3 separate regions of the Homo sapiens genome follow, and regions 1 and 2 are each linked to region 3. Evidence: promoter capture Hi-C in human tissues and cell types (Jung and others, 2019). All regions are on one chromosome and are shown on one strand. Each heading gives the region's core, a stretch centred on a gene start or on the middle of the fragment in contact. The rest is flanking DNA. Distances are from core to core; before and after follow the strand shown. Region 1 has its middle 430 kb from the start of MIR4432. Region 2 has its middle 380 kb from the start of MIR4432. Region 3 holds the start of BCL11A (BCL11 transcription factor A).

Evidence for each region. Contacts are between HindIII fragments. The study calls those that stand out against the background at their distance.
Region 1: a contact is called between a fragment that was not itself captured here and the fragment with the promoter of BCL11A in region 3, in 1 of the 25 tissues and cell types used here (lymphoblastoid cells).
Region 2: a contact is called between a fragment that was not itself captured here and the fragment with the promoter of BCL11A in region 3, in 1 of the 25 tissues and cell types used here (spleen).

The regions. Positions count from the first base shown.
Region 1 is chr2:59,953,870-59,957,657 of GRCh38, reverse strand. No RefSeq gene overlaps it. Among named protein-coding and RNA genes, the nearest start is that of MIR4432, 430 kb to the left of the region's middle. The HindIII fragment of the contact is 4,681 bases long and covers 152-3,788 here.
Region 2 is chr2:60,000,816-60,004,625 of GRCh38, reverse strand. No RefSeq gene overlaps it. Among named protein-coding and RNA genes, the nearest start is that of MIR4432, 380 kb to the left of the region's middle. The HindIII fragment of the contact is 3,989 bases long and covers 1-3,810 here.
Region 3 is chr2:60,551,150-60,555,036 of GRCh38, reverse strand. It overlaps BCL11A (BCL11 transcription factor A), which reads left to right and starts at 1,383. Exons shown (of 4, transcript NM_022893.4): 1 at 1,383-1,821. The coding sequence starts at 1,767. RefSeq lists an enhancer at 74-123 and silencers at 814-903, 2,313-2,672, 3,193-3,252, 3,313-3,622. The HindIII fragment of the contact is 9,532 bases long and covers 1-3,887 here.

The DNA.
Region 1 (3,788 bases), core at 1,243-3,742, 600 kb after region 3:
TCAACTTGTCCAAACTGTAATGACTCAAGAGCTTACTCACTCATCAAGCATTCACTGAGCATCTATCATATGACAGGTGCTGAAATGGGTTTTTGGGATACTAAGAGGGAGGCCCTGATCATCTCTTTCCAATGGCCTGTGCATGGCTTTCCTAACAATATTATGGCAGGGTGAAGTGACACTGGGCTGTTTGAGTCACAAGTGAAAAAGAGTCATTGTGTGCCTGGAACATTTATTTTCAGGCTATAGAAAAGTGAGGTAAAGACCTAACTGCCCAGTGCTTGACAGAAATTTCCTTTTGGATCTAAATGTTTTCATCTTGAATAGACATGATCATTGGAGTCGGGTCATTCTTTGGGCAATTTTTGATTTATTTAAATTCACAGTTTATAAGGTGTGTGCCATAGTCTCCATTTTATGTATGAGGAACTTGAGGTTTAGAGAGGTTGGACTAGTTTCCTGTGGCTGCTGTAACAGATTATTAAAAACTGTATGGCTTAAAACAAGATAAACTTACCGTCTCACAGTTCTAGGAGCTAAAAGTCAGAAATCAAACTGTCTTCAGGGCTGCGCTCACTACAGAAGCTCTAGAGGAGAATCCGTTCTTTGCCTCTTCCAGCTTCTCATTTCCATTGGCACTCCTTGACTTGTGGCAGCCTCACTCCAATCTCTGCTCTCGCAGTCACCTGGCCTCTCCCTCTGCTGTCTATGGGTCTTCTCTTTTGTGTGTCTATTTATAAAGATACATGTGTTTGCACTTGGGGCCTGCTTGGCTAACCCAAGATTATATCCTCATCACAAGATCATTAACTTACTCACATCTGCAAAAACCTTTTTTCCAAGTAAGGTAACATTTACAGGTTCAAGGGATTTGATATAAATATCCTTTGGGGAGCTAATTTTTAGCCTTTTTAGCCTAAGGTTAAGCCTTTGTCCAGGGTTATTCAGTTGGCAGAGGTGAGTATTGAACATAGCCAGCCAGATTTTATTTCAGAGTCCATTTTAAAAATTGAATTAATTTTTAAAATGGACACATAGTAATTGTACATATTCATGGGATACATAGTGATGTTTTGATACATATAATGTATAGTAATCAGATCAGGGAAATTAGCGTATCCATCATGTCAAACATTGATCATTTATTTGTTTCGGTAATATTCAAAATTCTCCTTCTAGCTATTTGAAACTGTATATTATTGTTAACTATAGTCATCCTACAATAACATAGAAACTAGAACATATTCCTCCTATCCAGCTATAATTCTGTATCCTTTAACAAATATCTCCCTATCTCTCTCCTCCTCCTACCTTTCCCAGCCTCTAGTAACCTCTGTTCTATTTTTTACTTCTATGAGATGAACTTTATTTTTTAATCTTCCACATATAAGTGAGGACATGCGGTGTTTGATTTTCTGTTCCTGGCTTATTTCATGTAAGACAATATCCTCTAGGTTCATCTATGTTGCCACAAATGGCAGGGTTTCATTCTTTTATATTGCTGACTAATATTCCATTGTGCATATATACCACTTTTTCTTTATCCATTCATCTGTTGTTGGATTCTTAAGTTCATTCCATATCTTGGCTATTGTGACTAGTGCTATAATAAACATGGGGGTACAGATGTCTCTTCCATATATCAATTTCCTTTTTTTGAATAAATTCCCAGTAGTGGGATTGCTGGATCAAATGGTAGCTCTGTTTATAGTTTTTTGAGGAACCTCCATACTGTTCTCCATAATGGCTGTACTAGTTTACCCACCAACAGTGTATAAGAGTTTTCTTTTCTCTGCATTCTCATCAGCATTTGTCGTTTTTTGTATTTTCAATAATAAGCATCCTAACTGGGGTCAGATGATAACTCATGGTGGTTTCGATTTGCATTTCCCTGATGATTAATGATGTTGAGCATTTTATCATATACTTTTTGGTCATTCGTATCTCTTCTTTTGAGAAATGTCTGTTCATATCATTTTCCCAGCTTAAAATTGAGTTTTTGTTTATTTATTTTGCTGTTGAGATGTTTACATTCCTTGTATATTCTGGATATTAATCCCTTGTTGTATAAGTAGTTTACAAATATTTTCTCTCATTTCATAGGTTGTCTTTTCACTCCTGTTTGTTTCTTTTGCTGTTCAGAAGCTTTGTAGTTTGATATAAACCCATTTGTTTTATTTTCTTTTGCTTCCTGTACTTTTGAGGTCTTATTTATAAAATCTTTTCTCAGACCAATGTCCTGAATTGTTTCCCTTGTGTTTTCTTCTACAAGTTTTAGGTCTTACATTTAGGTCTTTGATCCATTTTGAGTTGATTTTTGTATACGGTGAAAGGGGAGAGTCTATTCTTTTAAACCTCCACACTGACTCTTGGAATATATGTATATTCAAGTAAAGTTTTCAATGTAATTATATAAGTAGTAGTTTCAACCTGGTCACTTAGCATGAAGAACTAGGATGTACGATGTATTGATAGCAGTGTTCTGTTGTTTCCTTTTGATTCATTCAACAACCAGTATTTCCTGAGTGCCCACTATGTTCCAGGCTCTCTGCTGGCTGGCGTGAAGAGTCAATGTTGAGCAAAAATAACCACCATCCCTATTCTTCCAAGCTCACTTCCAGCAGGGGGACAGACATAAACAAAAAATAACTCATTAATGGAAATCTAATCACAAACTGAAAAGGAAAAGGGAGATAGAACAAGGAAAACTGACCCAGGCTGAATGCGAAAACAAGATTTCCCTGAGAAGTGGTGTTTCGGCCAAGATCTAAAGGCTGAATAGGAGCTAACAGGTAAGGAAAAGGTTGCAGCGGGGAAAAACATCCCAGAAAGAGAAAATGGCCCCGTGGCAGAAAGGATTATCAACCTTTTAGAAACTGAAATAAGGCTAGAGCAGAGAATGAGGCAGCTTTATCAATACGAGCATTTGTTTCTAGATGTAGTTGCTGGGCAAAGAGTAAGATGAAATGGATTCTCTAAGGTGGCAAACTCTTTGAGAGCAGGGAATGTGTTTTATCCACCTCTGGATACTCTGACCAGTGTGGTATTTCTTTCACCCAGAGTATACATGCAATGCTAACTTGTTGATTGACTTAATGAATAAGTGAATAAATAAATTAGCCTTGACCTCACAAATGCAGGCTATTTGACAAAGCCAGTGAAGTAGCCACCATTCCGCTTGCTCAGTGTTTCCTTTCTAATCCAGGGGGTCATAGTGTGCCCAGCTATATTCTGGCCATTTGTTGTAGCCACATAATTGTCGCATGTTAGCGAAGGGTGGTGAGGGAGCCAGGAATCAAAGCCTTTTTGCATGCAGTTGTGAAAAAAGGGAAGGCCATTGACTGGAGGAGAGAAAGCCTAGAAAATAAAAACTAAAACAGTTTCCTCATCCCTCAACACAGCCTAAGCCCTGGTATAGACATCGCCGACTGCATCCTGAGGCCAAGGCAGTAGCACACTCTTGATTCCCTGCCTCCCTGGGGGACTTTTCTGCAGGCAAGCTTTTATCTGATGCTCCATGTTTAGGGTACAGCATTATAAAAGAGTTAACTTTGGGTCTTGAAAAAGGGGACAGGCTATGAAGAAGGTTTTCTTACACTCCACTCTGAGTCTAACCTTTCTTGCTCACCACACATGGACCAAGCTAGACAGCTTGTCTGTTAGAAGAGATGTTCGTGGGATATATAATTTCCATAAACGCTCATTTAGCTTCTTTATCCAAGGAGCTAGAAGGGACAAATTTCATTTCCATACAAAACCCACTTAAAAGGACAAGGTCTCAGAGATTG
Region 2 (3,810 bases), core at 573-3,072, 550 kb after region 3:
CTTCTTTTAGTAACACATAGAACAGGGAGAGAAAATATTAATAAGGCTACAAAGATTTAAACAACAGAATTGACAAATGTGATTTAATGGACATACGTAGAACATTACAGCCAACAACAGCAGAACACACATTCTTTCAAGAACCCATGAAACATGTATGGTCATCTACTTTGTACTGAGCCCTATAGCAGGTCTCAGCCAATCTCAAAGGGTCATAGCTACCCAGACCACACCCTTTACCACAATGCAATTACATTATACAACAATAACATAGACTAACTAGAAAAAACCTATATGTTTGAAAATTAAGACAAATACATTCAGGTAAGTCGTGTCAAAGGAGAAATCACAAGATATTTAGAATTGCAGGATAGTTGTTTATGTATCAAAACATAAACTATACCCCCATAAACATACGGGGGTATAGTTAATACAAGACCTAGACAGAAAGCTGTAGACTTACGTACTCATATCAGAAAATAAGAAAAGCTCAAAATTAATTAATTCAATGTTCAATTTTAGGAGTTAGGAGAGCAGAGCAGTATAAAGTCAAACAAAATTGAAGGAAAAATAACGAAGAAAGAATAAAAGTACAAATGAGTAGACTGGAAAATAAATATGCAATAGAGAAAATCAACAAAGCCAAAAGTTGATCATTTGGAAGCACTAACAATAAATCTCTGGAAGAATTAATTAACAAAAGAGAAAATAAGATAAATGAGGAACAGAAGAGGGGACATAATTACAAAGGCTGAGGAGATAAAAAGATGACTCTAGTTGGGATAGCCCTGGTGAGATTTTGGACATATAGAGGTAGGCACTGGCTGTACAACTTCCTTCAAAGCCGGCTCAGTGTTTAACTGTCATTGTGTTCAATGCAACATCCTAAGTGCAGGGCAAGTGCTGAGCCAGTATTCCAAGTGCTGCAGGTGAAGTCCTGAGAGAACCCAGAGAGGAAAGAGTAGCCAAGTGTGGACGGGTTATCCAAGAATCCAGAAGACCTGCAGTAGGACTTGAAACTTTCCATGACACAAGTTGATTGAGAGGTTGCTGAGAAGGTGTCCAAATAGGAATGTGCAAAAGGTAAAGTGATGAGCCTGGAAAGTCCAGTAAATGGGATAACTAGCAGAGACTCTTCTGCTCCATGGGAGTGGGGTATAATGGGCTGAGCATAGAAGGAGTAAAGGGTGAAAAGAATGGTTACAACGCTGAAATACAGACCACTGTTTACAGCTTGGGAAATTTAACCCTTCACACTGTCTCTGTCCTGGGATCTTGGCTCTGAGCTACTTCTGCTGGGCACCTGACTGATTTCCTGGTATGTCTTCTTGGACAGCCACCAATTTGGTGTTAATACTCACAAGGGATCCTCTGAATCTGGGAACATAAATAGCCATTCTTACATCCAATGGCTTATGAAAACCTGAATGACTGACCTCTGCTCCCTTTTAACTCCTTAAATGAATTCCTTAACTGTCTTTATTTCCTTTCTTTATTACTTTTAATTCTTACATTAGTTTTTCTCCTTTCCCTTCCCATGCCTCCTCTCGTCCTTCTTTCCTCACACTCTCTTCTTTCCCTTATACCCCAAACATTCCTTGAGTTCTTGCTATAGTCCAGACCAAGGATCAGCAGGTTCCTTCTGCAAAAAGCCAGGTGGTAAATATTTAAGCTTTGTGGGCCATCCATTCTCTGTTGCAGCTACTCAATTCTGAGCTGTGGTGTGAAAACCACCATAGGTAAATAAATGGGTGTATCTGTGTTCCACTAAAATTTGTGGACACTGAATTTCATATCATTTTCTTTGTTATAAAACACTATTCTTTTTCTGATTATTCTCAACCATTTAAAATTGTAAAAACCATTCTTAGCTTGTGGGCCATAAAAACAGGCAGTGGGCCCAGGGACCGTCAATTACTGACCCCTGGTGTAGAAAACACAGAGTTTAAATGACAGCCCCACCTTCCTGCCTCTCTGCCCCTAAGTACGGACTGACACAGGACAGCATGAGCTGCAGACAGAAGAAGTGGCAGGAGTAGTAATGAATAAGGGGAAATTGCCCCTGGGGGAGGTGACATTTTTACTGCCCCTTGAAGGACTGGGTGGGTTTCAGATGCTTGCATTAATATGACATCCCTGCTGAGTGACTCCCAATTCTCATTTCTTTTCCTAACTTGAAACCTCAGTCACAGCACTTGCCTCCTGACTTTAAAAGACACTGGATTTTCTCAGCAGGCGTAGATTCCACTGCAACCCAGCTTCTTCCTACTCAGATGACCTTCCTCACCTGTGATTTGGAGCCCTTGCTCTAGTCTGTAGAACAGGGTGAGGAGCTTGTGTGGGCTGGCTGTGCTGTTGGAGTTATAAGCTCAGAAATCTAGCTGACTTCTGAACTCAAAAAAACTTGGCTAAGGCAGACAGTTTTCACAGCCAGGGTTCCATGAGTAGAAAGAGTAAATTCCTGCTTCAAGCTTCTTGTCAAGACCCAGCTTAAGGAATCCAGTTAAATGGTCCTTTTAAATGTGCCAGTGTCCCTTTCATTCAACATGACCTAGCTAGGGTGTCAAAAAGTGGGCTTTGCCTTTTCAACATCAGTTTTTCCATTTCTTTTCTTCCCTCCCTCCTTTCTTTTTTCTTCCAATATTTAGCAAAAGGCCAAAGTACTGAAATATGAATTGATTGTGCAAAACAAACTAAAATTTGCCTCGGGGTGATATACGGATTTTTCATTTATTTCTGTTAACATCTTCCAGTCCTTGAGTGTGTATATAAAGGATCGGAACCCTAATTTATCACAGTGATCATAAAGAGTTGCTGTGGCTTTTGTCTTTGAAATTCTGATGATTAGATGGTATTGTTATTCAGAGCAGGGGCCTGAGGGCTGGGGAAGCCCTGTGCAGGACCCTGGCTCAGGCTGGCATTTTTTATGACATGAGAGCAGGTCTTCATTTCCCAACACTATCATGTAGTTAAAAAAAAAAAAAAAACCCACACTGATCTTGAACTTTAAAAACAGGAATGAGATTCCAGTTTGAGTATTTGCTAACTTATGACTTGGGAAAATCCCTTAACCTCTTAGAAAGTCAGTTATACTTATCTATGTTTTAAAAATGGGGGTAATTAAAAATTTTTTATTCATAGGGTTGTTGAGAAGGCACAGTGAGATAACAGGTATGAAAATGCTTTGTGAAGTATGAAATGAGAGGGCCTTTCTAGAGTGGTCTCCAAATCACCCAGGACTCTTCTGAGCTCCCAAAGACCTTATTTGAGAAGGTGATGAAGGTCAAAGAAGAAAGATGCTCTCAATTCTTTGGTCTGGTGTGAAACTCTGTGTTCTTGTCTCCCAGGGGATTTTTTCTTAGTCCATAAGTCTCTTCTTTCCCCAGGTTCTATACTGGTTGTTTTTGCTTACAAATTCCTGTATTGCTTCCCTTACAGGTACTATCAGGTCATTCTGAAGACCCTTGCTGTTCTGTGGTTGTGGAATTTTTTCATTTCAAACAGGCTGTGGTCCTGTTTTCAAGGTTCACTCTCCTCCACAGAAGGCCTACAACCCCAGCCCCTAGGTGGAAAAGGATTGCACCTCTGAATTGCACCCTATGGTACATAATCATGTAGTTGCTTCTGCTGTTATGCAAGCATTTCTTGGGTGCATGTGTGAAATGTGTGTGTTTGTGTGTTATGAGTGTGTGTTCTGTGTATAGAGACTGTAAATACTTTGGAATGTGCATTTATGCATTACTCAGTGCCTAGGCAGTTCTGGATCCACAGTTAGTGATTAATCAACACATAGTTGTTTAATGAAACTAA
Region 3 (3,887 bases), core at 134-2,633:
TCTGCAGAAAGGCGAGAGGGGGCTGCTGGCTCCTGGGTGTGCGCCTTGGCCGGCGGCGCCTGGGGAGCGCGGCGGTGACCCGAGGCGGTCATCTCACCACCGTGGTCTCCCCGCTGCTCCTGCGAGCCTGTCGCTCTCTCTCCATTCCCATTTTCTCTTTCCCTGGGTAACAGCACAGGAACAGTTGTGCTCTGCCCGTAAGAAACATTTTCTTCCCATCCCTCTGTGCTTTTGCAGTTGCTCTGGAGTGGGAGGGGGTGTGTCCCTCCCAGGGACCCGGCTCGGGGACCTCCCGCGGCGCCGTGAGCACATTCCCAGGGACTGGGACTCCCGGGACTGCCCGCGCTTTGTCCTCGGCCTCTCAGAGAGGTGGACGCCTCGGTGCCTCTCTTGCCCAGGCCCCCGGCGCTCCCCTCCGGGGGCCAGACTCTGGCTCCTCGTTCTTTATTCCTCGGGCTCTCTTTCTGCGACCCTTAGGAGCCGGGGACTCGGCGCTTTCAGTTGCATTCAGACCCAGTCGCTTGGCGGGGCGCTCAGATTCCCGGTCCCTGGCTCGGCCTTGGGGGCGCCCTCGGGCCCCGGCCTGCGCCGCCTGCCTCTCCCCGGTCCCCTCTTTCCAGGCCGCGCGGGCTCCTGGAGACTTGGGCGCTGCCCTTCCGGACCCGCAGCCCTCCAAACTTAGGCTGGATTCCGCGTTGCCGTGCGCTCCCTCCCACCTCCCCTCGCCCGCTGCGGAGCTGTAACTTGGAGGCTCAGCTCTCAACTTCGGGTGATTTTTCTTTGCTGTCCTCTCCTCGGGCAAAGTTTCCCGAGCGCAGCCGCGGGCTCGGGGCTTTTACTTCGGCCCCTGGCGTCCACACGCGGGGAGCGAGCGCGGCGGCGGCGGGGAGGGGAAGTGGGTGTGCGTACGGAGGAGGGTGTCCGGGAGCAACTCTACCTGGCTTCCCTCCGCCCGCGCTTCCCCAGCCCGGGGCTGCAGCCTCCCGGTGCACTCTCGCTCTATTTTTTTCTTTTTTGAATAATCTTTCATTTTAGAGTCCGCGTGTGTGGGGGGGAGCAGGGCGCACGTCTTGCTCCCCCCCACCCTTTCCTCCCACCCCTGCCACCCCTTTCTTCTCTCCCGGCCACGCCACCGCCGCGGCGCTCGCTGCGGCCACTGGTGAGCCCGCGGCCCCAGCGCCCCCTCCCCTCGGCCCGCCCCTCCCCCGGGGGCCGCGTCTGGCGTCCGCGGAGCCCCCCGCCCCGCACCTCCCCCTCCCCGCACTGGCCATTGGCTTGTCCTGGTCTCTTTTTCATGTCCAGCCCCTGATGTGTGTCCATTGGTGTGAGCTTCCCCTTCCCTCCTCCCCTTCTCTCCTGCTCGCCCTGCCCATGTTTTGTGTGTCTCTGTCCATCCAGACTCCTGACGTTCAAGTTCGCAGGGACGTCACGTCCGCACTTGAACTTGCAGCTCAGGGGGGCTTTTGCCATTTTTTTCATCTCTCTCTCTCTCTCTCCCTCTATCTCTCTTCTCTCTCTCTCCCTCTTTTTTTTTTTTTTTTTTTTTTTTTTTTTGCTTAAAAAAAAGCCATGACGGCTCTCCCACAATTCATCTTCCCTGCGCCATCTTTGTATTATTTCTAATTTATTTTGGATGTCAAAAGGCACTGATGAAGATATTTTCTCTGGAGTCTCCTTCTTTCTAACCCGGCTCTCCCGATGTGAACCGAGCCGTCGTCCGCCCGCCGCCGCCGCCGCCGCCGCCGCCGCCCGCCCCGCAGCCCACCATGTCTCGCCGCAAGCAAGGCAAACCCCAGCACTTAAGCAAACGGGAATTCTCGCGTAAGTAACCCAATAATAGTAATAATAATTATTAATAATCACGAGAGCGCGCAGGACTAGAAGCAAAAGCGAGGGGGAGAGAGGGGTGTGTGCATGCATTTTTAAATTTTTCACGAGAAAAACCTCCGAGAGTCGAGGTAAAAGAGATAAAGGGGGAAAAAACCCTCATCCCATCTGGAACCATTGCCGTGTATGCACTTTTGAGACAGCACGCACCTTTTAATTTTATTTAATTTTACAAAAATTTGACTCCTCCTCTTTCCTCCTTTCCGCCGCTTTATTTCTCTTTTCGAAAAGGAATGCAATGATTCCACTCCCCCCCCGCCCCGCCAGTTTTGCAAAATAATGAACAATGCTAAGGTTGCGAACAACTCACATGCAAACCTGGGGGTGGGAGCTGGTGGGGAAAGGGAGGTTGCTTCCCACTCACCGTAAGAAAATGGGGGGGTAGGGAGGGAGTGAGTACAAGTCTAAAAAACGATTCCCGGGGAGAAAAGAGGTGAGACTGGCTTTTGGACACCAGCGCGCTCACGGTCAAGTGTGCAGCGGGAGGAAAGTAGTCATCCCCACAATAGTGAGAAAGTGGCACTGTGGAAAGGGGCCCCCGGCGCTCCTGAGTCCGCGGAGTCGGGAGAGGGGCCGCGGCGACGGGGAGAGCCGTGGGACCGGGAAGGACGGGAGACGCGGCCGGCACTGCCGCCTTTTGTTCCGGCCAGAGGTGGGTGTTTGTCCCGCTGCCTTTTGTGCCGGCTCCTCGCGCTTGCCCTCCCGCGCCGCCGCCGCCGCCGCCGCCGAAGGGCAGGAGCTAGGGCCGGGGGAGGAGGCGGCCGGGGGCACGCGGGAGAGGGAGGGAGGGAGCCCGGACTGCTGCCTCCTGGGTTGCCGCTGCCCTCCCCTCCCGACCGAACCTCAGAGGCAGCAAGGAGAAGACTGGCACATAAATAAATAAATACATAAAAATAAAATAAATAAAACAAGGCAAGAGAATGTACAATTTCTTGCCCCCAAACCGAAGCCAAACGCTCTGCCAACCCTTTTCTGTGACGGCCTTCTCTTTGACTCCCCCACCAGCCCCCCTGCAAAAATCTCACAATCTCTCATCTAGAAAAAAATTTACAATCACCCTCTTCCCCCAAACCCCTTCAGTTGCAAACTTAGGGCGCCGACGGCACGGAGAGGGAGAGAGGAACTCCCTCCTCTTACTATTTTTTGGAAGATTTTCAAAAAAAGTGGAAGTGGATTTTGATTGGGAAAAATCTCGTGTCTGAATGTTTACAAGCACCGCGTGTGCGGGAGCCTCCTGCCAACAAACAGACAGAGGACCGAGCGCGGCGCGGCAGCCCCGGAGCAGGCGGCGGCGGCGGCCTGGCCTCGCCCGGGCCTTGCCCGACCTCGCCGCGCCCCAGCCCAGCCCCGGATCGCCCACCCGGCGCCCGGCGCCCACCCGCCAGGCACGGCGGCAGGCCACGCAGTGTCTCCGCGCCAGCCTGGCCCGTGGTCCTGGTCCGCCCCCAGCACAATGCCGAGACCTCTTCTCGACCTCCCAGACTGCGAAATCGGCTGGGTGAAACTCGGCTTTGCAAAGCATTTTTATTTTGCAGGGCAACTGTAAAAGCGCGTTCTGCGCCTCCCCTCCCCTCCGCCCTGGGTACTTTCTCAGACGTCTCTTGTCCACAGCTCGGGACCGCGAGGAGGTCACCACGTGCTTTCCCTGCCCACCCCCCACCCCGCCCGGTCTGGTCACCAGTCCCCCTGCGCCCCGAGCACGACTAGGCCAGGTGGCGGGGTTGCCGGGGAAGGGCAGGGGAGAAGTGTGTTTGAGTGTGCATTTTAAGGGCGCTGGATCCTGGGACCCCGAGCACTTCACCCTTTGGGTCTTGCCCTCTTCCCCAGGCCTGGCTTGGTCTGAGGTTCTTGTGAGTCTGTATAAGAGCTGGTGGTGGTGGCTGTCTCCCGCTGACTGCGCCTGGAAAGGCGGGCGGTGGGCACTTAGGAAAGTTTGGCAGCAAGGGAAAGAAAGGCGTGAGGGCCCACATTCCCCCCCTACTCAATTTATGATTCTTACT